Linked DNA regions of Homo sapiens: all the other regions are linked to region 3. The links are contacts of gene promoters, found by promoter capture Hi-C in blood cells and fetal thymus (Javierre and others, 2016). All regions are on one chromosome and are shown on one strand. The core of a region is centred on a gene start or on the middle of the fragment in contact, and the rest is flanking DNA. Distances in the headings are between cores, read along the strand shown. Region 1 overlaps VAV3 (vav guanine nucleotide exchange factor 3). Region 2 overlaps VAV3 (vav guanine nucleotide exchange factor 3). Region 3 holds the start of PRMT6 (protein arginine methyltransferase 6). Region 4 overlaps VAV3 (vav guanine nucleotide exchange factor 3).

The links. The method cuts DNA at HindIII sites, captures the fragments that hold promoters and counts their contacts. A CHiCAGO score of 5 or more calls a contact.
Region 1: a contact is called between a fragment that was not itself captured here and the fragment with the promoter of PRMT6 in region 3, in 1 of 17 cell types (fetal thymus). The highest score is 7.6, in fetal thymus.
Region 2: a fragment that was not itself captured here is called in contact with the fragment with the promoter of PRMT6 in region 3 in 1 of 17 cell types (fetal thymus); the score reaches 5.7 in fetal thymus.
Region 4: a fragment that was not itself captured here is called in contact with the fragment with the promoter of PRMT6 in region 3 in 1 of 17 cell types (fetal thymus); the score reaches 9.0 in fetal thymus.

What each region holds. Positions count from the first base shown.
Region 1 is chr1:107,597,688-107,604,416 of GRCh38, forward strand. VAV3 (vav guanine nucleotide exchange factor 3) reads right to left here. Exons shown (of 27, transcript NM_006113.5): 23 at 5,360-5,476; 24 at 4,710-4,797. Among named protein-coding and RNA genes, the nearest start is that of MIR7852, 300 kb to the right of the region's middle. The HindIII fragment of the contact is 733 bases long and covers 1,716-2,448 here.
Region 2 is chr1:107,774,073-107,780,688 of GRCh38, forward strand. It overlaps VAV3 (vav guanine nucleotide exchange factor 3), which reads right to left. Exons shown (of 27, transcript NM_006113.5): 3 at 5,362-5,420; 4 at 3,159-3,224. Among named protein-coding and RNA genes, the nearest start is that of MIR7852, 120 kb to the right of the region's middle. The HindIII fragment of the contact is 1,056 bases long and covers 3,015-4,070 here.
Region 3 is chr1:107,053,468-107,059,432 of GRCh38, forward strand. It overlaps PRMT6 (protein arginine methyltransferase 6), which reads left to right and starts at 3,207. Exons shown (of 1, transcript NM_018137.3): 1 at 3,207-5,827. The coding sequence starts at 3,249. The coding sequence ends at 4,376. RefSeq lists enhancers at 3,439-3,488, 3,509-3,648, 3,659-3,788, 3,799-4,008. The HindIII fragment of the contact is 2,330 bases long and covers 941-3,270 here.
Region 4 is chr1:107,746,057-107,752,413 of GRCh38, forward strand. VAV3 (vav guanine nucleotide exchange factor 3) reads right to left here. Exons shown (of 27, transcript NM_006113.5): 13 at 5,061-5,146; 14 at 3,406-3,538; 15 at 2,912-3,021. Among named protein-coding and RNA genes, the nearest start is that of MIR7852, 150 kb to the right of the region's middle. The HindIII fragment of the contact is 1,404 bases long and covers 1,741-3,144 here.

The DNA.
Region 1 (6,729 bases), core at 832-3,331, 540 kb after region 3:
AGACCACCTTTCATAAGCTAAAAGCAGCATAGTTTGGCTAAAGCATTGGATAAGGGAAATGGCAATTTTTCAATCTCACCTATAAAATGGGGCTAATAAACCATTTCACAGATGATAACAAAGAATATATAAAGTACCTAATACATGTGAAAAACTGTAACAGCTACCCCATTATCCCATGTGCCAGGCCCTTTACATGGCTCCTTATAACTTTCACTCAAGAACATTATGAAATGGGCCTTATTCCCATTGAAGCTCAAATATCAGTGAGGTGAGTGAACTTAGGCAAAGTCACATAGCTAGCGCCTTTATCCAAAGTTTGTGCTCTTAACTGTATCATACTATTAGCAAATAGTGCCTAGCAAATGTAAATACAAAAACAAGAGCCAGGCATGGTGGTTCATGCCTGTAATCCCAGCACTTTGAGAGGCTGAGGCAGGCGGATCACCTGAGGCCAGGAGTTTGAGACCAACGTGGCCAACATGGTGAAACCCTGTCTCTACCAAAAATACAAAAAAGTTAGCCAGGTGTGGTGGCAGGTGCCTGTGATCCCAGCTACTTGGGAGGCTGAGGCAGGACAATCACTTGAACCTGGGAGGTGGAGGTTGCAGTGAGCCGAGACTTTGCCACTGTACTCCAGCCTGGGCAACAAGAACGAAACTCTGTCTCAAAACAAAACAAAACAAAACACCAAAAAACACACACACAAAAAACAGGGAGGCAAAAGTGAAATAGTTTTTGCTATGTGTTCATGATGTACTAGGAACTTTGTTTTCTTAGACTTAAAATGTTAGGGTCTTCCAAATATTATATCTATAACTTGAAAAATATGTATTTCTTCCTTTCTTCCTTGGGCCCAGATAATGTGGGTCCTTGTTGAAGCAAGAAATTTGTAATCAGACCGACCTTTAAAAGCAAAGAGAAAAAGAAACAAAAGACCATGTAGAAGTTTGTATCTCCAAAATGGTTTCAATGATCAGAATATGCATTTGTATTTTGGTGAATTTTAACATGTTTTGCGCAGACAAGGTATAGAATTAAATTCTACTTAGTGACCAATATTGCTATTCATTTTTTTAAAATATAAAGCAAAATTTTGTGAGGTCTCTGGAATACACACACACACACACACACACGTATACATAATGTCACTGATACAAACGATACCGAAGTTTCTCCTAGTCTTATTACTTAAATTGAGTAAAATGTGTTATTTTCTTTAGCAAATGTGAAAACAAACTTGAAAGGAATTATAAGCCATAGCTTTGAACTTCAACGTAATTTTGTTATAGGTAATATGAATTTTATGATTTTTGCTATGAATTACAATTTATGTGAATTTGGCTAGAAACCATAGAATTATCATACTGAAAAATGATTTGGTGATTATTTAATACTCGCCCACCCCCAAATTTTATGGAAGAAAAAATGAGTTTTCCAAGGCCTAGGGTCATGCGGCTTACTTAGTAAGCTGCAAAACACTCTTTATCACTTCACTAAGCATGGAAGATATTTTAGTTCCATTTTTACAGTCTTACGAGGGTAAATCTTCCTACATGTTTCTAACTGGGTAGAACTAAATAGTGTCACCATGGATCTTTTCCAATTTGCCTTTATGCTTTCTGTATTTTAGTCTAATCCACCCCTGCCTTAACAGTCATTGACCTTCAGGTACAACAAGTAAATAAGAAGACTCTAAACAAAAGAAATCGCTAAGCTTTCCTTATCTCACACTGACACAGCAGTGTCAACAATTCAAGTCTCTCAAAAATAATGAGTGAGAGCCAGTCATTCCAATTACCAAGGAAACAGGCAATGGAGATGGTTTATAAACAGCATTTGGACATGGACTGTCTCGCATACATGAAAATTAGAACAAAATTAATGCCTTGTAATCTGGATACAGAAATTCATTTAGGATTTGAATTTAATGACTAAGAAAGACAAAGATTCTGATTAACCAAGCTATTGAAACTCAAGGGAAAAAGGTTAGGTCAAAACCACCTAAGGCCAATCTTCTCACTGAGAAACCAGTTAATTTAAAAGAAGCTCTGGAGTTTGCTTATGTTTTACACACTTTCCAGATTTAAATTTAATTCCAGGCCCTATTGTGTTTCACAGATAGAAGAGTAAACTAATACCAATAACAAGAGGATACTGAACTATTCTTAAGAAACAACTCAAATCCACAGATCACTCCTTACTTATAATAGACAAGTGTGTTATTTGACTCCAACATGATAAAAGGTAACTCCATGAAGTCTGTATGATCTTGATTTTGAGAAACCTTCACACCAATTAATCATCTTCTACCTCCTTCCAGAAGTTCAGGTTGCTAAAACATGAGCCATTCCTTCTGACCAAGTATCCATGTGGCATTTCCCAGCCTAGGTTCCAAGGACTGCTCTATGGTGAGGTTCTTGGTGTAGACGTATTTACTGATTCTTAAGCTTCTTTTTAGAATGGTTAAGTCCTTTTGAGTTCTCCAGAAAGTGATTTCACATTGTAAGGACTCAATATAAATTTGCTCAACAAATGAACAGAAACAAAATGGAGGGGTAGCTTCAGATTAGTTCAGCTGCCTCTTCAGCAATTTTTATAGTTATTTACTAAACTTGATAAAAGCACTTTTCTGATATTGAGATTTTTTTTCCAGCTCCTTGTTTTTCTTTTCATAATTACATCCTTTGCTAATGTTTGTTAGTTTCATTTTGCTTTGCTAAAATTCTTAGTCCCTTCCCTTTAACACGCTGTGATACGTGCTTCCTTACAAAAGATGCCCAGATATGGAGACGAAAACACATATGCACGTGTCTCTAATAGTGGCATTGCTGAGATTTTATACATAACATATAAGAAAAGCTTACTTTAGTCCTGTGACAAGTACTTTTAGTTATTTTTCCAGAGAATATCATTGTAGAAACTTTTAAGGCTCTCTGGCACAATTTTTTTTTAATGCTGGGTCTCTATTGCTTTCACTATAATCACAGCTTTTACATGCAGATAGGAACTCATGTATCTATGTCTACCAATCCAGGTCACTGTGGTATTACTGGCTTTTCACATCTAACCTTGGCTTCTGAAGAACTGCCTTGAGCTGAACCCAGGTGACACAAAGCTAAATTCATTGGCCCTTTTCAGTGACGATTCCTTTCATCTTCTTTGCTTGTCTCCTCTGATGGGAGTTACTTTTGCTACTTTCAAAGTCTGCAAGGCTGGCAGTTATCTTTGGCTCTGCAGCAGTTTTTTAAGTCCCATAGTAACTATAACACTGTGGAGCAGCCTCATTACCATCCAAGGAAGTTCTGCAGGTGAAAGCTCAAGCTGGTACGTCTTGCAGAGATGTGGAGAGCCCCTGTGCGTGCTTTTATCATGTCTCAGCTGTGTCTGTCATTCATTATTTGTGCATCCACTTGCCACCTCCCTCCAAGTTTTCATTTTATGAAGAACCTCCTCTGGTCCAATTCTCTCTGTGCTCAGCCTGCTTGTTTCAACAGAATGTAAGTTACTTCCAGCAGGGAGGATGCCTGGATCTTGGTTACAAATTTGACAGAGTTTACATTTTCCAGGACATGACCTTGCTGCCCATCCTTAGCTTTTGAACTGGGAATGATCTTTACATCCATAGAGATTTTCTTATTTTTCTTTCAACTCAAGATGCTTCAATTTCTTTAAAACACTGACACCTGCCTTGAAGCAGTTCTACATTTTTGGATAAGGCATTCAAGCTGGCCTATTTTGTAAGGCTCCCTTACACTCAGTTTAACTTTAATGTTAACATCTGCAAAGTGCTTTGAGATGTTTTCTGGAAGGATGCAGTATGTATCATTTGATTGATGGTTCATTCAATGAGTGGTCCTTCCCAATGTTACTCAAGGTACTTAGCAGTACAAATGCATCTTATGTCCTATATCCAAACTCTTCATTATCTCAGAAACTACCAAACTTGAGAAACATACTTGAGACCACTTAAGGAAATGTGAATTTAGAGTTTACTGTTAGCAACGCATACATGATGATATATACACATTGTTTAAATGACATACACAAAATATTCTTATATGCTAACAAAAGTATGAATAAGTTCTATTTTTTTTAAACTGGGAATAATCCTTATTCATTTGATGTGATTTGACAATATACTATTTCCATTTAAATATACAATTCCTATGAAATATCAACTGTTAAGTGGCAAAAATGTTACCTTGTTAATGCATAATTATCTAAGGTAATGAATGAGAACCATGGTAGAGATCACTTAAAATAGCAAAAAATACAAAAATCTTTTCAATTTGACTTTATATTGCATTTTATAAAAAATGAACCTAAATGTTAGACATATTTTACTAATTACAACTTTTTGTGTTATAATTTAAAATACTGTCCTCTGCCTGAATCAGGACATAGAGGCAAAGGAAGAAAAAAAGAGGAAAGAAAGGTATATTTAAAATCTGCTGTATCATTTAAACACAAACCAAAACTCTATCTAAACCTGCAAACAATTTACAATGAAGATTACGATTCGAGCAATATAAAACTTAGAGATTTATAAATTAGAATTTTCAGGATTTTGTTGCAAAATTAGAATATGATTATCTTTAAATAACTTTTCAGTGAGCAAAATTTCCAAGAAACTATAGAATTAAAATGACCTTTCTAACAAAAGAAAAATAAGGATCCCAGATTGAAAAGAAATAATCAATGCTTACCATTAAACTTTTAAATTTTCTATTTTCTGCAATGTGAAAAAAGCCATCTCTTGTTAAAATCTTGATGTGCTTTGCTTCATTATTGTACCTGTGGGCAATGAATAACTTATGAATATAAATGTGTTTTTAATCAGTAGAAATCAATAATTACCAGAGGGCATGCCCCAATAACATTTTAGGAATTAATTCTGCAGACAAAAATATATACCTATGCCAATACACTGGTGACAGCTAATTAACAAAATATATTTACTGGATTGGTTGAGGATACAACCAATATTTGAAGTGAGAAGGGAGGTTGGATTTGACTATTCATTATGCACAATTTATTAAGTTCAGTTTGAGAATACAGAAAAATAAGACAAAAATCTAGAAATTTATACTGTTAGTATTTACTAGAAATATACACACATCAAACCACCAAAACACAATATTATGAAAGAAATCTAATATGCCAATTAGCAACCTATAACACTTTTTACTGTTTTTCAAAGATATATTTTCAAGTATTAATGAACTGTCTGGATAGATGCATTATTTCTCCTTCAATTAGAACTTTGGTTTTCACCTTCAGTGTTATACATGTCAGATGGTCTATGCAATTATGAAAACAGGAAATCTATTTCTGTAAAAGTACTTGTCCTACTTACTTAATGCTAATTGCATATTCTCCTGACTCTTTGGTCCTGTGCCTCACAAGGTAAGTACTATTTACCCTATTAATAAGTTCGGTCTCTGCTTGCAATCTTTCCATTGCTCCAGCATACCTGTAAAAAACAATGACACAGAAAATTTGGATAATATACCTGGAAGAGAACAGAGGCTAAAAGTAAGTATCTCTCAATATTTAATTTAGTGGCAGATCTGAGCTGTTGGTAATTCTATACTAATTACATTGTTTAAGAAAAATAAATCAGAAAAAGGTCCTTTAATACGTCCAAACACAAATGCTCTACAAAACTAACAACAGCAAAATGAACAATGCCTAATACCCACTAAGCACCTAGTAAATAAATGGGACACAGAGGAGTCAGTGGGTATTGGGTAAAAAGACAGTTGTGGGGAGCTTAGGGACAGGAAGGAAAAAGACTTGTAGGGAGAAACTGCCCTGTATAAGATACACAGACACATTTATTTTAGCTTTTCTATATATACTATGAAATGAAATCTCCTTTAAGTATCTTTTTAAAGAAAATTCTAGCAATAAGTTATTTTAAATAGTTTTTTGTTATGAGATTAATTCATTCGTCCACAATTTTGATAAATTTTCTTAAGCAATTAGTAATAATGAGTAAAATTTACTTTTAAAAGGTAGATTTTTTTTTTTGCATAGAAAGAACATTTCTCATTCTCTTTATTTGCTAAATACAGGCAAGCCCAAAGCAATGCAGTCTATTTAACATGCTAGTAACTTTTTTTTTTTTTTTGAGACAGAGCTTCTCTCTCTTGCCCAGGCTGGAGTGCATGGCACCATCCCAGCTGCCTGCAACCTCCGCCTCCTGGGTTCAAGGGAGGCCTGTGCCTCAGCCTCCCAAGTAGTTGATACCACCGGTGTGGTTGATATTTTTCAAAACCAGAATTCAATCTCCCTAGACTTTGCTGGCCTTAAACATACAGAAACTCCATAATAACTGTAATAATAAAAGGCCAAAATTCAATCTTAAAATAATCTTTAATGACCCCTCAAATCATACATAGGTGTAAAATCTCCTGGCAAGTTACATCAGAGATTTTAGTCAATAGAACTTAAAAGAAAAATTCTGTTTAGATTGGTTCTCTTTCAAAGCTAGTCAATAATTAATGTATCCGAAAATCCTCTGATTCACATATAGACCCACGTAACTTTGTATAAACATCCACCTGTAATGCAAACTTAATATTCATTTAAAACGCACATGACAGGCATTCAGCAAAAGTTTGTTGATGGAGGACATGTTAGGTTTCCATCTAGTATAAAAGAGGAACTAAAGGCATTTTATGCAGATGGTACCTTGCGTTAAAAGAAAAGTTATAACAACTC
Region 2 (6,616 bases), core at 2,293-4,792, 720 kb after region 3:
GTTGTTGTTTGGGGGACAGAGTCTCACTCTGTTGCCCAGGCTGGAGTACGGTGGTGCAGTCTTGGCTCACTGCAGCCTCCACCTCCTGGGTTCCAGCGATTCTTCTGCCTCAGCCTCCTGGGTAGCTGGAATTACAGGCACGCACCACCATGCCCAGTTAATTTTTGTATTTTTAGTAGAGACAGGGTTTCACCATGTTGGCCAGGCTGGTCTCAAACTCCTGACCTCAGGTGATCTGCCCACCTCAGCCTCCCAAAATGTTAGGATTACAGGCATGAGCCACCGCGCCTGGCTGACTTTTCTCTATTTTAAGACCTGTAAGAATGACATGCATGTGTGAGTGCATGCGTGCATGCAAGTGCACAAACGCAAACACACACACAAGACTGGTCTAGAACTGTTTGGCTTTTGTTATTCAATCCTTTACTAAAGCTGCTTTTCTTGCTAACAGCTTAGTCAACAATTCCTGATTTCTGAGCCAGGAAAGAAAAAAGCTGTGATATTTTTCAAATGGTCAATAAATCAAAAACAATCGACATGTAAGGCCACCTACATACGGGCATGTCTGGCGCCCTGATACTAAAAGGACACTGTACAGTGTAGCCATTACCTGCCCTCTCCACTCCATCCTGTGGCTTTCTCCCCAACTTAGGAAACAATGATTGCCTCCACAGTGGGGACCAGGCCAGTATTTATTCCAAGGGCTTCCGTTTGGGTGAATGCAGCCCCAAAATTTAGAGTTAAGTATATTTACCCATAGAAATTGTAATAAAGCTGAGAATAAAAATCAAGCTGTCACAGCAAACTCAAAACCAAGCATGTCTAGGGATAATACATTTGCTTTTTTTTTTTTTTTAAGATAACCCTACTTCACCTTTTATCCCAGAACTTTGGGAGGCCAAGGTGGGTGGATTGCTTGAGCCCAGGAGTTGGAGACCAGCCTGGGCATATTAAATAAATAATTTCTTTAATCCTGCAAATACATTCGGACCTTCGGCCACCAGGTAGAAATTTAAAGCAGACTGCCTCTCACAGAGCAAGGGCTGGCATCTCAGAGCAGCCAATTCAGGAAACCAAGGTTTTCTCCAAATTTAGCTAGGAATGCATCCTCACTGGATTTATCCTGACATCATGTCTGCCTAAATAACAGTGAAAAGAACAAAATGGGGAAGCTATAAAAATTTATAGGTGTAAGTCACCACTGGTATGGGTTAAAAAAGAATATCGACTGGGCACAGTGGTTCACACCTGTAGTCCCAGCACGTTGGGACACCAAGGCAGGTGGATCATGAGGTCAGGAGTTCGAGACCATCCTGGCTACCACAGTGAAACCCTGTCTCTACTAAAAATAAAAAATTAACTGGGCGCAGTGGCAGGCACCTGTAATCCCAGCTACTTGGGAGGCTGAGGCAGGAGAATCACTTGAACCCAGGAGGTGGAGGTTGCAGTGAGCTGAGATCGTGCCATCGCACTCTAGCCTGGGTGCCAGAGCAAGACTCAGTCACAAAAAAAAAAAAAAAAAAAAAAAAAAAGAATAGCATCACGGCACTAGAAATTAAATATTCCCCTTAAACAATCTGAGTACATTACCAATAATCTTAGTCACTTTATGAAGATTACAACCAATTCAATAAAACAACTGGCACTATCTTGCTTACTGTTGGTGAGTTCTTAGAGATTTTAAGAGATAAGAAACTACTCTTAATAGATATTTAAAATATAAGACTGAAAGATCATTCTCAAGGCCACCTACCCTGGAAAGAGCTGCTGGCCATCCATCGTGTGACTGCAGTGGGTGTGCTCACCCCCTCTACTCTTCTACTAAAAGCTCTGAGAGGGATCTGGAAGTTGGGGCTGTGACTAACAACCTCTGCTCTAGAATAAGAGGTGTCTGAGTTCAAATCCAAAGACTACAATTTACTAGCAATATTACCCTCAGCAAGTAACTAGGCTTTTCAAAATTCAGTTTTCTCACTTTTAAACTGTGAAGATATAATAACAACCTAGTAATATTGTGGTATTACATAAGATAGTGCATATAACCTGGTTAGCACACAAATGGAAACTCAGTAAGCTCTTATTATTATTGCCAGGTGTAATACCTGGCAAACAGTAGATGCTAGATGCAGTTTTGACTTATTAATTTGGAAAACAAATACTTATTGAGTACCTACTATATGCCAGACACTGTGAAGTTCTAGGAATACAGCCATGAACAAGGCAAAGTCCCACACCTCACAAAAGTGTACCTTCTAATGAGGAGACAAACAATAAATGAAGCAAACCAAGACTGTCTCAGGCATTGGCAAATGCTGTAAAAACACAGCAATGTAAGGGGGTGGTGGCAATTTTAGACAGGATAGTCAGAGAAGGCCTCTCTGTAGGGAAATCTAAGCAAAAACTTGAACGCTGAGGGATCAGTCAAACAGGCAGAAAGAATAGCAGGTGTAAAGGTCACAAGGCTAAAACAAGCCCAGTGTGTTGGGTGTATGAGGAAGGATAGATGAATGAATGGATGAAGTTCCATAGCATTTGAATCTGTCTTGGGGCATAATCTATTTCTTATTATGATTCTTTGCAAACATGCCTGATCCATGTCATCAGTTCCTTGAGGAGTAACGATCACGCATATATTTATTTGTAATCTGTACAAGTCACTCAATCAGCAGAAGATAATCGGCTGCAAGGACCTTTTGCCTCTCTTGACTATTAAATAATAGAGCCCAAAAAGATTCTCTGTTCAGAACAAACACCGCCTACTAAAACATCCCGAATAGCTCCAACCCACACTTATCTCTCCCTTCCTTGAACTTATAAGGCATGCACTATGTGTCCCACAACTCCAGCAGCAGATTCTATTTCTTTTAAATTGTTCCCTAACTCCAGTTTTATCTACTACTTCTGTTATGCCTTTGAGAAACTTTGAAATTTTACTTCATTAGAGTAAGTTTCTTTATTCTTCATGGGGACACAAAACAGGAACTAAAAACCAGTTGAAGTACATTTTCTTGTAAAGCTTTCCATCGCCAGTTTAAGGTTAATCAGTAATTAAGCCACTTTTCCTCCTTCAGATAGCTTACTTTAACATCCACAGTTAAAACCCACAATGGACACATAAATTGGCAGTGGCTAAATTTTGCTTGAAATTTTCAACATACTCTATTAAATCAGGAAGGCCTTTGTAGATGTCTTCATCATTAATGCTTTCTTCTGTTGGGAAGGGCCTAGGAAGAGGAGAAAAAACAAAAACAAAAAAACAAACCCATGAGTGAACGAGCAACAATCAGGCTGCGCACTTAACCCTCACTAAATATGTAAGTTGTCTGCTGCCAAAATGGTCAGATCAGTCACCATGTCTAACAATATCTAGGGCTTTCCCTAAAGTGCCTGCTCAGTGGCTTTGTCTGGGGTTCCCCTAGGGAGGCTGTAACACCTGCCACCTGAAATCATCTGAAGCAATTACAGCTGGTCACCACAGTCACATGTGCAGGGGGTCATAATAACGTGCTTATCTGATCTCCCACCTGCCACATACCTGCAGGGTCACCTCACCCACTGCAGCACCCCAAGTCAGACAACAAACAGCTGTGCATGTACCCTTGCCTTCAGCACCCTCTCTTTTCAGCTGTGGGATCTGATAACAAATAATTTGGTAGCAATCATCCTTCCATGGCTCCGTTCACTAGTGTAGATGAAAACTAGTAGAAGACAAAAACATTGTGCCCTTTACATATACGGTCATTGACCCTGACATTTCTGCTCAGACTTTAGGGTATTTAAGCTGTATGTTTTATTTTCGTTTATTAGACAAATGAGTCAACCAGACCTTGGGGTGAATAGAGTGTTTTCTTTGTTCCCTATTCAAGAAAATCACCTTTAATGTATCTCCTATTCCCACTGTGTGGCTTCCTTGTTTGCATCATGGTACTATGTCCTTTTTTCATAACTGCCTTAAATTTATGTCTAACAAAATCACAGTAAGCATACTGTGCCAAAAATTCTACTCTTTTCAGGCAGCCAGCATATCACATGTTTCATAAAAACCAGAGGATCCATCAAAATAATAAATAAGCTTTAAATAATTACTAGTTATATTAAAAGCAGAGTTTCACATTGACTTATGGATTAATTTAATACTGAAGACATTTGAGGAGACTAGGTTTTTCAAATAAATCAGTGTGTGAGAAATGTAGTCTCATAATCATTTTTTATAAATTAAGGCACATTTTATTATGCAAGTTCATTGTAGAAAATATAGATGAGAAAAAAAGGAGAAAAATTTTGACTTACGTTTTTTCAGAATCAATACATAAAAATTTGATCATGCTTTAAAAAAATCTTTACATATAATAACATAAAATATATATTGACATGAAAGGTATGCATGTATTGAAGAGCAAATTAGGAGTTAAACATTTATCCAGCCGACAGACCATATACATAGAAAGCTGCCAAATTCATGGCCCATTTCTGAGAAAGGTCCTGTACCAGCAGGGCATTTTTCCTGAGCTCACTGTGCTTTGTAGCCAGTGCAGAGAACCCCACTAAGTCCTGCTTGGATCCTCTCTCCCTTAGAATGTGAATGTGAGCTGGACACAGAAAAATGGCTGTGATGGCCAGAGACAGAAATATGGAGCACTGAATAAAGAAGGTAAAAAACAAATTTGATCCATTTCCATGAAACCAGGCTGAGTAGAGACTGTTTTGCTTTATTTCCTAATGTTACTTATATAATACATCTTTGCTGACTGATCTAACTTAAGTATGTAGTATCTGAAACAGAAAAGGCTCAACACAACATACACATCTATATTTTTATGCTTATCAACTGCATAATACTCTATTGCAAGGAGATGACATACTATATTTAACCAATTTACTTCCAGGTTTTTAATTTACTACTGAACCTTCAATACACATTCTTGTACACATGTTTTATACTTGTTTGATTATTTCTTAAACTCCTAAAAGCTATGAGTTATTATGATCTACTCTATAGGAAATAAACATATTACAACATCTTATAAATATTTATTTACTTAAGCATTTGTGTTTACTTTAATGAATCATATGTACAGAAATGTTGGAGGAAAGTTAAAAAAAAAAAAAAAGAAGAACCACACCAGTGACAGTCACCTGTGAATTGAGAACAATGTTTAGCCAATGTGTTATTCAACTCTATCAATAAGTTCTACCTTGCTCAATTAATTTCAAACGTGTACGGGATACTTACATACCAGGCACTCTTCATGAATGAGACATAGTACCTGTGTGCAAGATGCTTCACAAATAGTAACCATTTAATAAAGAATCATTACACTGAACTCAATGGGACACATGAACAACGAAAACAGAGCTTACCTGATTCCTGTGGCCAATGCTATAGGTGTTCGAGAAAGTCGTGATAATGTTTCTATAACCTGAGAAAAGAGGAAAATACTAATTAGATATGTAGTTCAGAAAATATAAGATTTCTTTTTCCAAAATTTTTTCAATCTAATATTAACCATAGCAGCAGAAACATAAATTTGCAGGTGTCAAAGATGTGCAGAATGAGAAGGGCTGTGATTGGGAAGTATAAACACCTGGATTATAATTTTATAATTATTACTTAAAGTAATAAATTACTTTATTACTTTAAGTAGATTACTAACCCATTTGAGTTGCAGATTCTATATCAGTATAACACAAAGTTAGCCTGGGTGGCCCCAAGCAACTTGTATCTCTACTTTTACAGAATCTGAAAGATTCTGGAAAGCTGTATTCTCCAGTATAGTACCCACTAGCCACATGAGGCTATTTAAATTAATTTAAATTTTAAAAACAAAAATCCCAGTTCTGCAGTTGCACTAGCCACATTTTAAGTGTTCAGTAGCCACACACATGTGGCCACTGTAATGAACTACACAGTTATCAAAAAATTTCCATCATCACAGAAAGTTCTATTGGACAGTCCTGCTATATAGCAAAGCAGGTGAGACTGTGGGCGGGCTCTTGGGCCAGACCACCTGAGTCTAAATCCTCAGCTTACCATTTATTGGCCAAGTACTTTTGGGCAAAATACTTAACTTCTCTGAGCTTTTGTTTCATCTTCTAGATAATGCCTATAATAATAGTTAGATTATTAACAATCATTACATTATCGTGAGGATTAAATAAGCTAGCACGTAAACTATTTAAATAGTAGCTATTCTGTATAATCACCAACTTTAAGGAAATTGCCTTAATTTAATTCTGAGTGTTTTCAGAAAAAGTTTTCTAAATTAACCTTAATTATGTTTCAAAGATTCCTTATAAAGATCTTCAGTACTTAAATCTAAATGTTAAATATACTCTGCTAGCAACTTTACCCTTCCTTCAATCTTTTGTCCTAAGATTGTCTCTTTCGAAGACTTAGTGAGAAAGCCATTTATCTAAAATGTATTTTTCTCATAAAGTCTATTCTTGTTTGTTTCTTTTTTGAGACAGAGTCTCACTCTGTTGTGCAGGCTGGAGTACAGTGGTGCGATCTTGGCTCACTACAACCTCTGCCTCCCAGGTTCAAGTGATTGTCATGCCTCAGCCTCTCAAGTAGCTGGGATTACAGGCACACACCACCATGCCTGGCTAATGTTTG
Region 3 (5,965 bases), core at 1,957-4,456:
TTTGAGCATTGAATAGACGTGGCAAGCAGATCGCTGAAATGAAAATACTAAGAATGCTCTGCCAGCAGAACTCCAACTCTTCTCCCATGCAGGTGGTTTGCTGCTGAGCCGCACGGCTTAGGGAAGGGCTATGATCTAGGTCCCTTTCCTACTTAAAACATCTCACTGTGGTACAAAAGATCAGTAAAGAACTCCTTCTCTATATCAAATAAAAGGGCAGGAAAGGAAAGTGCCACAGACCTTTTTTAATCTGCTCTAGGGATAATGTTTGGTGCTTACCACTATTCTATCTAGAAGCATTAACAGTATTTAAAATTTATACTATTCTCATTTCTGGGAGCATTCCACATTCTATCTATATCTGGATCTATCTCAGAGTTTACCAAGTCACATTGTCACATTGAACTAATGAAGCAAAACTCTCTACATCCACAATAGACTTTGTTCAAGACTATTTATTGAGCACTTTCTATGTGCCAGCTTCTGTTGTAGTGCTAAGGACTGCAATAGTGGGAATACAAAAGTCCAAGTCTCCTGGAGTTGATATTGTATAGAAAACAAATAAATTAATTAAATACATACAGATAATAATGAATGCTGGGAGGGAACAAAATAGTGTCTTGGGTTTGAAAATATTATTTAAGGAAGCCAGGAAAGGCCTTTTTCATGAGGTAACATTTAAGTTGAGACATGAAGGATGAGAAGCCACTAAAGTGAAGTGCTAAGGAGAAAAACAATTTTCTCAGCACCAGAAGAGTATGCATGACGACCTGACACAGGAAAGAAATGTGTTATTAGAAACCAGTATATCTTGAGCCCAATGAAGAGTTGGGAAAAATGGTATGAGATGAGATGGGAAGTTACCTGAAGTTACTGAATTGTTCCATTAACTAACACGGGAAGTTACTGAAGAATGACATGGCCCAATGGGTTTTATAAAAGCTTATTCTTTCAGCTATGTAGAGAAGGGATTAGATAGGGTTGAGATTAGAAGCTGAGCGATCCCTTAGGAGACTAATTTTCAGGCAAGTCAATATGGAAGATTAGACTAGGGTGTTGACAATAGAAATGGAGAAAAGCAGATGGATTCAAGATATATTTTGGAGGTAGAACCAGTGAAACTTATATTCAGAATTTTCTTAAAAGAGACCATAAGGAAGTGAATTGAAAATTGGGTGAAGGAATGAATGTATTTAAAAGGAAAAGGTGACATTTTGAGGAAAGAAAGAATGGCAAAAGTATACACTAAGTAACAACCTATTAATAAAAGTAACATATTAAAGTGGTCACATTTACAACTCTAATCTGATGTCCTACACTGGGCCTCAATTATCTTAAAATAAGATATTAAACCAAGGCAGAAAAAGAGAAGAAATACTTCAAGGTTTTTAGCCTTAAATGGTTGAGCCCAGGCCACTGAAAAAAATACAATTTACCCAATTAAAATAACGAAGCAAGATTTAACTAAGATCATTTTAGTGAGAAACAGTTGTTCTCACCCTGGCTGCCCATTAGAATTCCCTGGGGAGCTTTTAAAAACTAGAAGCCCAGGTTCCACTGGAGTGATTCCGATTTAATTGGTCTGAGGTAGACCCAGGCATCGGTATTTTTTAAAAAGCTCCTTAGAGAATTCTAATAAGCAGCCAGGATGGAGAGTCTTGAGTTAGAAGTAGAGTACAGCTAAGGATGCCATATCAATAAACCTATTCTGCTAATGAAAGATTAATAGAGAAAATAGGATGAAAGAACTTTGATCCCAGACAAGGAATACAGGCCTATTGGTTACAAGGACATAATTCAAGACCACAAGAAAATAAAAATCCATTTTACTCTGAGTGACTTTTTTTTCAAGCTGGCAGAAAATGGCATTATGCCCACCTTGTTAATAACACGGACACCCATACAGATGCCACACATATTTAAAAACATATTTTATTTCCATTATGGACAACAAAAAGAGAGTAACAGCTGATGGTTGACTACAAGAAAAATATAAGAGAAAGAGGAGAGTGTCAATATTGCCCGGACAAGAAAACACAGGAAAAAATGAATTGCATTGAGAAAGTGATTAAAAGAAATTGATTCCGTTATTTCTGAGAGAAAAAAACGCATATATATATAGAATACACCTAGCAACGAGTTTGCTTGTATCACATGGCTCTTGAGTCTGCACTTTTCAGGATTTAACTCTTAAGAGAGCCACAGAATTATCAGAGCAGAGCCGAAAGCCAAGTAACTATTCTTCTAAGTAGAACCAGAAACCTAGTTCTTCCCCAACTGCAATGAAGATTCGCTGGTGGGTGAATGGGCAACTAAAGGCCAGAGAAGTTCTATTATTTGCCCTAAATCACTCAACTAATTAGTGGTCATACTGGAATCAGAACCAAGATTTTGCATTGTTAGGTTTTAATTTTGTTACATTTGCACTCTAACTGCACTGAAAACAGAAAAAAGAAATGCGTAGTGCAGTTTCTAAATTGCCACAGCTGGAGCACTTTAAGAGCTACAATTGTCCAGTTAAGGCGGTAGTGGGTGGATGGTGCTGCCATGTTAATTCGGTGGAATAAAACCAGAGGTGAGTTAGGCCGGGCGCGGTGGCTCACGCTTGTAATCCCAGCACTTTGGGAGGCCGAGGTGGGCGGATCACCTGAGGTCGCGAGTTTGAGACCAGCCTGACCAACAGGGAGAAACCCCGTCTACCAAAAATACAAAATTAGCCGGCCCTGGTGGCATGCGCCCGTAATCCCAGCAACTCGGGAGGCTGAGGCAGGAGAATCGCTTGAACCCAGGAGGCGGAGGTTGCGGTGAGCGGAGATCGCGCCATTGCACTCCAGCCTGGGAAACAAGAGCGAAACTCCCTCTCAAAAAAAACAAAAAACAGAAAAACAAACAAAAAAAACAGAGGTGAGTTCAGCAGAAGAAACAAAGGTGGATTATTAGTCTTAAGTGTGCGTGCCTACTTCAGGAAGGGAGTGAAAGCAAAAAACTGAGGAGCTAAGGGTGGGAGGGGGAATGAAAGGATCTCAGAATGTGGGCGTCGTGGGTGGGAAAAGGGATGCCAGGACACCAGAAGAGCAATACAAAACAGCTCCCGTGAGCAGGCACAGGAGACCTTCCGCGCCGCCGGCCGGGCGACCCCGCAGGAAGTAGGAAGGACGAGCGCGCACTACAAGTCCCAGAAGCCCCCGTTTCCTGGAGCCCGCGCCGTGCCGCGCTACGCCCGCCGGGAGCCGGGCAGAGCGGCCAAGATGTCGCAGCCCAAGAAAAGAAAGCTTGAGTCGGGGGGCGGCGGCGAAGGAGGGGAGGGAACTGAAGAGGAAGATGGCGCGGAGCGGGAGGCGGCCCTGGAGCGACCCCGGAGGACTAAGCGGGAACGGGACCAGCTGTACTACGAGTGCTACTCGGACGTTTCGGTCCACGAGGAGATGATCGCGGACCGCGTCCGCACCGATGCCTACCGCCTGGGTATCCTTCGGAACTGGGCAGCACTGCGAGGCAAGACGGTACTGGACGTGGGCGCGGGCACCGGCATTCTGAGCATCTTCTGTGCCCAGGCCGGGGCCCGGCGCGTGTACGCGGTAGAGGCCAGCGCCATCTGGCAACAGGCCCGGGAGGTGGTGCGGTTCAACGGGCTGGAGGACCGGGTGCACGTCCTGCCGGGACCAGTGGAGACTGTAGAGTTGCCGGAACAGGTGGATGCCATCGTGAGCGAGTGGATGGGCTACGGACTCCTGCACGAGTCCATGCTGAGCTCCGTCCTCCACGCGCGAACCAAGTGGCTGAAGGAGGGCGGTCTTCTCCTGCCGGCCTCCGCCGAGCTCTTCATAGCCCCCATCAGCGACCAGATGCTGGAATGGCGCCTGGGCTTCTGGAGCCAGGTGAAGCAGCACTATGGTGTGGACATGAGCTGCCTGGAGGGCTTCGCCACGCGCTGTCTCATGGGCCACTCGGAGATCGTTGTGCAGGGATTGTCCGGCGAGGACGTGCTGGCCCGGCCGCAGCGCTTTGCTCAGCTAGAGCTCTCCCGCGCCGGCTTGGAGCAGGAGCTGGAGGCCGGAGTGGGCGGGCGCTTCCGCTGCAGCTGCTATGGCTCGGCGCCCATGCATGGCTTTGCCATCTGGTTCCAGGTGACCTTCCCTGGAGGGGAGTCGGAGAAACCCCTGGTGCTGTCCACCTCGCCTTTTCACCCGGCCACTCACTGGAAACAGGCGCTCCTCTACCTGAACGAGCCGGTGCAAGTGGAGCAAGACACGGACGTTTCAGGAGAGATCACGCTGCTGCCCTCCCGGGACAACCCCCGTCGCCTGCGCGTGCTGCTGCGCTACAAAGTGGGAGACCAGGAGGAGAAGACCAAAGACTTTGCCATGGAGGACTGAGCGTTGCCTTTTCTCCCAGCTACCTCCCAAAGCAGCCTGACCTGCGTGGGAGAGGCGTAGCGAGGTCGGAGGGGAAAGGGAGATCCCACGTGCAAGTAGGGGGAATATCTCCCCCTTTTCCCTCATAGCCTCTAGGGAGGGAGAGTGACTTCATTCTCCATTTGAAGAGATTCTTCTGGTGATGTTTACTTAAAAAGTGATCCCCCTCAACAACGGATACAGCGTGCTTATTATTGGGCATTTAGCCTCAAAAGCATGTAGTACCAAGCACTTGTATTTCCGTATATTTTGTTTCGCGGGGGAGTGAGGGGGAAGAACACGGATGAAAATGTCAGTTTTTGAAGGGTCCATGCACATCCCTGACACCTCACACCTTATCTAAGTCTGAAGCTGGGGAGAAAGGGGTTCATTTAGACTTCATACATTTCCAGTACGACTTTAGTATCTCTCCAGAGCCATATTTTCTCAGTCCGAATTAATTCCCCCTCCCTAGGTGCCTGTAGGCTATGGTACTTCTTCCTCATTGTTTTCTAGGTAAACTTCACTACTGGTAATTAAGGGGAAGGATATGAGGAAGCAGTTTAAATAGCCCTGTTCTCATTACTCTGACCACATACATCATAGGGTGCTAAAGTTGATGAACACATTAATCCGTTAAGTAAAATGGACTTTGTAATTGTACAGCATACCTAAGAAACTCAGAAGGTGCATTTAAGAGAGAGACCTGAAAGAAATAGTATGGATTTTTAAAAATTCTTGTCTCTACTATTATAACCAAAAAATATTTCTTGTATGTCCCATAAAAATATTTGTGTAATTCTTATGAAACAGGCTGGTAGAGGAGGTTTCTGAGCCTAGCCCAAGGGCTTATTCATCACCATGGGTAAATTATTTAAACTCACTTAATTAAGGAAAATATTTTCCCAGCTAGAAAAGTATACTCATTCTCATTTAAACTCTCTCATTTGGAGGGATCATGTGAGTTGGCCTACTTACAAGTAGTGAAAGTTCCCTTTTCAGTTTTGTTTTGTTTTGTTTTGTTTTTCTCTTTCACTCAGCCAAATGTGAAAGTTGTGAATTTAGGAAAATCACTTGTAATGAAGTGTGAATCTTGTTATCAAATTTATTTCTCTGATGTTTCCTTCCTTATCCTTGTAGCCAATAAAACATTGACATTCTCACGTTTTATAGATGAGGTAAAAAGTCTTGTGTGCTGTGAGTTATAATGCTTTTGCCTTTTTAATATTATTAGTTCTTAAGTGTTACAGCCCCTTCAGAATATAACTTCAGGACAATTCAAACTATGCTTAATGTATGATTTTCGAGCTTCTGTATGCTAAGAAAATAGGTGTGAAAAACTGGTGTTCTGAAATAGCCTAACATTTATTGTAATTCTGAATTTTCTGCCCTTTTATTCATTGCATATTAAAGTATTAGAGTATAAAAACTAATTTGCTAAACTTTGGTTGTATATAACACAGATCTTCCATCATGGAGAGATATACATGTACAAAATTATCAATTTACAAGATAATTGAGTAGCAAGCAGTACAGTTGTAACCGTCACCATTTTGATGCTAAGATAGTGA
Region 4 (6,357 bases), core at 1,193-3,692, 690 kb after region 3:
CAGATTTAATAATGGATAAGCAGCAAAATTTGAACCATAGGCAAAATCAAACTTCAGGATTTACCTATATTATTCTATTTTTATGAGCATCAGACAGGCAAAACCTGTCTTACAAAGCTGGAAGCAGACATTATCAGGGCTTTCCTACATGATGAACTTCAAAGAAGAAGGAAATAAAACAATGGAATATTCTGATGCCTGCTCAGATTTTATTTAACCATATATAATATAACCCTTATTTATAGAAGCCCTCAACTTCAACTCTGAGCAATTCTCCAAAAAGATACTTCTACCCTCCCAATATCTGCATAGACATTCAACGGAACTCTAAAACAACAAAAACTACTTCTACTGGTGTGTTATTTTATTGCTGAGATGCTTGGAAAACAATCAAAGATTAAGAAACCCAGGTTCTGTGCATGTGCTGCAGCCATCCTTATTGTGGTGGAACAATTTAAATCCGTACATACCCCTATATGTATAAACCTGTAAGGCGGTGGCTGCTGGTTGCCTACAACTACCCATTCCTCCCTTCTTCCATAGTAAAAGAACCTTAATTCTTAGCCAGGAAGAATCCTACCTAGAATAAAGGTTTTATTTGCCAGCCTCCCTCGGCAGGTGCGGCCACATGACTATACGTTGGTCAGTATTATGTAACAGAAGCGAGTGGTATTTCTACAAGGAATCCATAAAAGTGGGATTACTTTCTGCTACCTAGAACATAAATTTTATACCTAGAGCTCTAGCAGCTATCTCAGACTACAAGGTAACCACTCTTAAGGAGAGAAGTCAAATGCTGACAATAGTATTTATCTTGTCAAATCTCTTTTTTTTTTTTTTCAAGACGGAGTCTCAGTCTAGTACCCAGGCTGGAGTGCAGTGGCACAATCTCAGCTCACTGCAACCTCCGCCTCTCAGGTTCAAACAATTCTCCTGCTTCAGTCTTGCGAGTAGCTGGGACGACAGGCATGTGCCACCACACCCGGCTAATTTTTGTATTTCTAGTAGAGATGGGGTATCACTATGTTGGCCAGGCTGATCTCGAACTCCTGACCTCAGGTGAATTGCCCACCTCAGCCTCCCAAAGTGCTGGGATTACAGGCATGAACCATCACACCTGGCCATCAAGTCTCTCATATCCACAAATTAACTGTTTGTTTTATGGCAACTGAACAAAATAGTAACTGACATGCCTGTCATACAGTCCAAGGAACCTGCCTGCTCTAGGACATGAAATTCAATTTCCTTCTCTGCAGACATTCCTTCACTCATCTGAAGATTATATAGCCAAACGAAACCCATAAAAAAAAAAGCCTAGCATATAAGAGCAAAGGCTCGAGATCAGCTCTGTCTTTGCATATTACCACTAACCCAATCATCCTATCACTCCAATTCAAATTGTTTAACTCCAAGTGACTTCCTAAAAAGAAAAAATAGTATACTAGAATATGTTATGTAGTTTTATAAGTCTTGTAAGTATACTAGAATCCCAAATGCAATTATTATTAATAATAATAGCAATAATAATAGGTATCACCTATTGTTCAATATCACATAGCTGTAGCTGCTATTGTACTATTTGGCTAGCTCTCTGCTGATACATATTACCTAGAATTTGAAATAAATATCATTCCTATTTTACAGATGAGGAAACTGAGGCTGTGAGAGGTTAAATAACTTAGCTTTCATTATGCAGCCAGTTCATGGCAGTGATAATAGATGAACCCAGAATTGACTATAAGCTTAAATATTTTGGCTATATAATCCTGTCTTCAAAATATTAGATAAAATAATCCTGAGAATCTTTATTTTCCTAATTTCAGAACCACAATAAAACATCCTACTCCCACCTCTAGTTTACATTAACACGAGCATTTCTTAAAACAAGGAAAAAAAATTGATAGAATTTGTCAACAACTGGTAAATAATCTTTATAAGCGTAAATAGTTTGGCTATAGAATCCTGTCTCTTAAAATGTTAGATAAAATAACCTTGAGAATCTTTATTTTCCTAATTTCAGAACCACAATAAAACATCCTATTCCTACCTCTAGTTTACATTAACATGAGCATTTCTTAAAACAAAGAAAAAAAACTGACAGAATTTGTCAACAAATGGTATATAATCTTAGAACCCAAATGAAACAAATTCCAAATGTAGTTTTCCTTAATTTCCCCTTTTGCTAACAGTTTTATTTCAGGGTATCCTATATATTTCTACAAAAAGGGTCATTGTGTACCTTTCAATCCTTAAACATCAAAACTAAAAAGAAACACCTATAATGACCTGTTCTTGGTTATTACGTCTCAGAATGCCATTCCTTTTGAAACAGGGTTGATTTATTTTCTACCTCTTTGTTGAGCTTCCTCCTCAGTGGAACTAAAAGCCACTTAAAGAAATCAAGCCCTTAAAGCATTCCTTAAATACACGAAGCATTTTAGCCAAGATTCAAATAAGCGAGTTAAAACAGAATAATTCAATCTTTCTATTAAAAATAAGATATATGCATTTACATATCTGTTTGTGTATGTACACTTGGAGGCATTTCTATTTAAAGGTATATAATTTAAAAATATAGTTATTACATAAAAAGTTTATCATTAGAATAATTAATATTTTCTTGGGCTGCTGAGAGCTAAAGAACTAAAACATGCCTATAAGAAAGTCAAACAGAAGATTAGAGCTCCCTCTTTCTTCTTTTTGAAGGAATTCAACAAAACTCCTCTCCTAGGAGACCAAAGTTATCAAGCAGCCAGCAGCCTAGTAGCACTCCTGCTCACAGCAAAAACATTCCCGTCGCTGTACACATTATACATGCTACAAGCATTAGAGTACACTTATTGGTTGTTCATTATTCATAAGTGATTTAACTAGTAAAAATAAAAGCACTTTTAAAAATAGAAATACTCACAAAGCCATTTCAAACTGTTCTAGCCATTTCTTCTTTAAATCTTTTGTTTTGCAATAAAATTCTAACCCATTTTGTCCTTGGGTATGGATGAGGTAGAAGCCATAAGACCACTGTTAAAATTAATATTCCTTAGATTAATATGTATCATTAATAACATGTTTCTAAATTCACAAGAATACCACAACTATCCAAAAACTCCTCACAATATTATCAATGTACAAACTGAACAATCAAGCTTATTGTAGTCAACTTCATATCTATAACAATTTCTATGCCAAATGCGTTTTATTATCTGGATCATTAGGGCATTAGAAATGATCAGATCTGGCTGTGGCATTATCCAGTTATTTCTCACAAAGTTATGTACCTAATCAATCTCTAGAAACAAAAACATCTGGATTGATAAGCCATATCTCACATTAATGTATTATCATACTTTTCCTTAATGTTCAAGATTATAAGTAAATTACAGTTATTAGTTTCCAAAAAGTCACCTTTTTGTTTTCTTTATCGGTTGTAGGATTATTGGCTATCTTGTACTGCTGAAGATCTATTATTTCCTTCATTTCATAGTTATCACCTTTTCTCTTACATACGATCACTGCCAAATCAAATAAGAAGATATGCCTGGGAAAAAGAGATTGATTGATTGATTTTAAATGGTTTAGAAACATGGGTTATTAATTTTTTTGGGTATAAAGCAACCAAATGTTTTTTTCTTTGCATTAAAGACAACAGGTAGTATCATACACTGAAAACAACGGGGTATTTGAGGTTATAAGAACTGTGTGTGGAATTTCCCTTTACCTTGTAAATGGCCTCAGTGTGCTTTGGTTCCCTCATTTTAAAAATGGGCAAAAATCATAGTAAGAGTAAAATGCACACTGCAGAGTTGTTGAAAGGGCCAAGTGAGATAAGCCATAAAGTTTGTTCATGAGCAATTATCTTTTTTAATTTAAAAGCTAAAAACCTATAGAATAATATTAATGACATCCGTAGCAGCTTCTACTGAAGTTACTAGGAATCAGCCAGAATGCCTTGAGAAGTGTTCATCCCTTTCACAAACATGACTCAATTTAAATCCCCAAGACCACATGCTGGGAAGGTATCATTGCCATCTTCATTTTATTGAGGAGGAAACTGAGGCTTAGAGAAGTTAGATAATTTGCTCAAGATCACACTGCTAGTGAGGCATGTAACAGGATTCACAAACAGGTCTAATTTTGGAAACTGTGCTTTTACCCTCTATATTGTTCCTCATGATTTAATTGGCCACCTAAAAACCCAAACTGAATGGTATATGAGCCAAGTGTAAACTGAAAACGTTATGGTGAAATTTCCATGTTAATATTTCTTTTTTCTTATTAAGAACAACGTAACTTGGGGGAGAAAATAAACCTTATAACCACATCATCCAATACCAATACTTGTGTATTTTTATAAACTCTCAGTGATTAACACACATTTTTTTTATACACAATGATAATGACACATTCACAGGGCTGTAACACTTGCATCACTTTTAACGTCTATTTCTCCCAGAGAGGTTTAAAGGACCTATGGAGCCAGGGTTATCGAGGAAGAAGCAAGAGCTGATGCTGCCCCCTACTGGCTTTCGCTTCTCCAAAGATTCCAGAAAACAATCATTGTCAACCACAAAAACCTCTGTTTGATGATTACATATATACATAATTAAGGACTCCGGGCCAAGCTTACTAATCTTCAAGAACTACATCTGCAAATTTCCCTCAAGAAAATATTACTACGTGATTCTCACTTAATCTTCTTTCTTAGGGCATTTTTCTATTATTTTTGGTTATTTAAAAATATATTCCAAAAATTCAATTATGTTTTTATGGTAGTTATCTGTTCTTACTTTATCGCTCTTCTCATTTTAATGTATCCTAGCTGATCATCTATACTTGTTACTTCCTTCTTAATAACTTAGACAAACTAATAGATACCAGAACCCAGGTGGGAATACCTAAGATAATCTAGATTTAAAAAATTTAGAAATCATGGGTTGGTCTGTCTCCTTGTATTTCTTCCTTTTTTCCCCCTACTTCACACTGGAAAAATTGTCTTTAAGGTTTTCTCAGTTTTCTGACACTAATTACTTATTTTGAAAATAGTATTCTTCTTTTCTTACCTTTCTTGTTTGGTATGCTTGTCTAGAGTGGTTATTCGAATTTCACCATCTCCCTGAGGTCGTCCAAAAAGCAAAACTGGTTGGTTCTAAAATATAAAATGCACATGTCAGAGTTTTTCATAATCACATGAAAATAAAAACAAATATTAGTAGAGATATTTACTCAAGACAACTACCTTATTACATTAAAATGTTACCATTTTTTATACTTTTAAAGCATACTTACTCTAAAAAGCTCAGGTCTACATGACAAATAAGTCTGTCCTCTGTAATCCCAGGGGGTATGTCAAGGACATCAATTGATTTTAATTAGTATATATTCTTAAAGGGGAAATTAGCTATGAAAAGAAAGACTCAACCGGAAGGGTCCAAATTACGAGACGGTTCGGCAATTAATATTTTTTGAGCATCTACTACGTGCCAACCACCATAACAGGTGTACGGCAAAATGATACAGACACTGCCCTCATGAAGCACACTGCGCAGTGGAGGAACAAATATTCACAGAAGCATGCAATTACAAACGCACAATTGCCATGAAGGAGTACAGAAAGGGGCGGGGGGGCGCGCGCTAATTTGGTCTATAAAGTCCAGGCTGGCTTTCTTGAGCTAGGACCTCAAGGACGAAAAGCTCTGAGTTAATTATTTAAAATAATGAGCTATTTTCCCAGAGGCTGATAACTAAATTATTTTTAAGTGTTTATGAACACTTACTGTACACGCTAGAGGAAAAAAGAATTGACTGAAAATCACTAACGTTCAGAAATTCCATTTTAATAAAGGGCAGAGATGTGTGATTAACACTATAAATATAAAAATAAATGTATCTTATCAAAATCCCAGTGATGTTTTCTGCACAAATAGAAAATTCCATTCTAAAATTCTTATGGAATCTCAAGGGATTCTGAATAGTCAAAACAATCTTGAAAAGGAACAAAGCTGGAAGTCTCATACTTACTGACTTGTTTCCAAAACTTATTGCAAAGCCACAATAATCAAAATCATGCGGCACTGGCATACAAACAGGTATATAGACCAACAGAATAGTAGAGAGCCCAGAAATAAGTCCTCACATATATGGTCAAATGATTTCCAACAAGGTTAACACCATTAAATAGGGAAAGAATAGCCTTTTCAACAAATGGTGCTGGGAAAACTGGATATCCACATGTAAAAGAATAAAGGTAGACCCTTCATTACCTTACACCATAAATAAAGAATAACTAAAAATGTTTCAAATACCCAAACATAACAGTTAAAACTATAAAACTTTTACAAGAAAATGGGGAAAAACTTT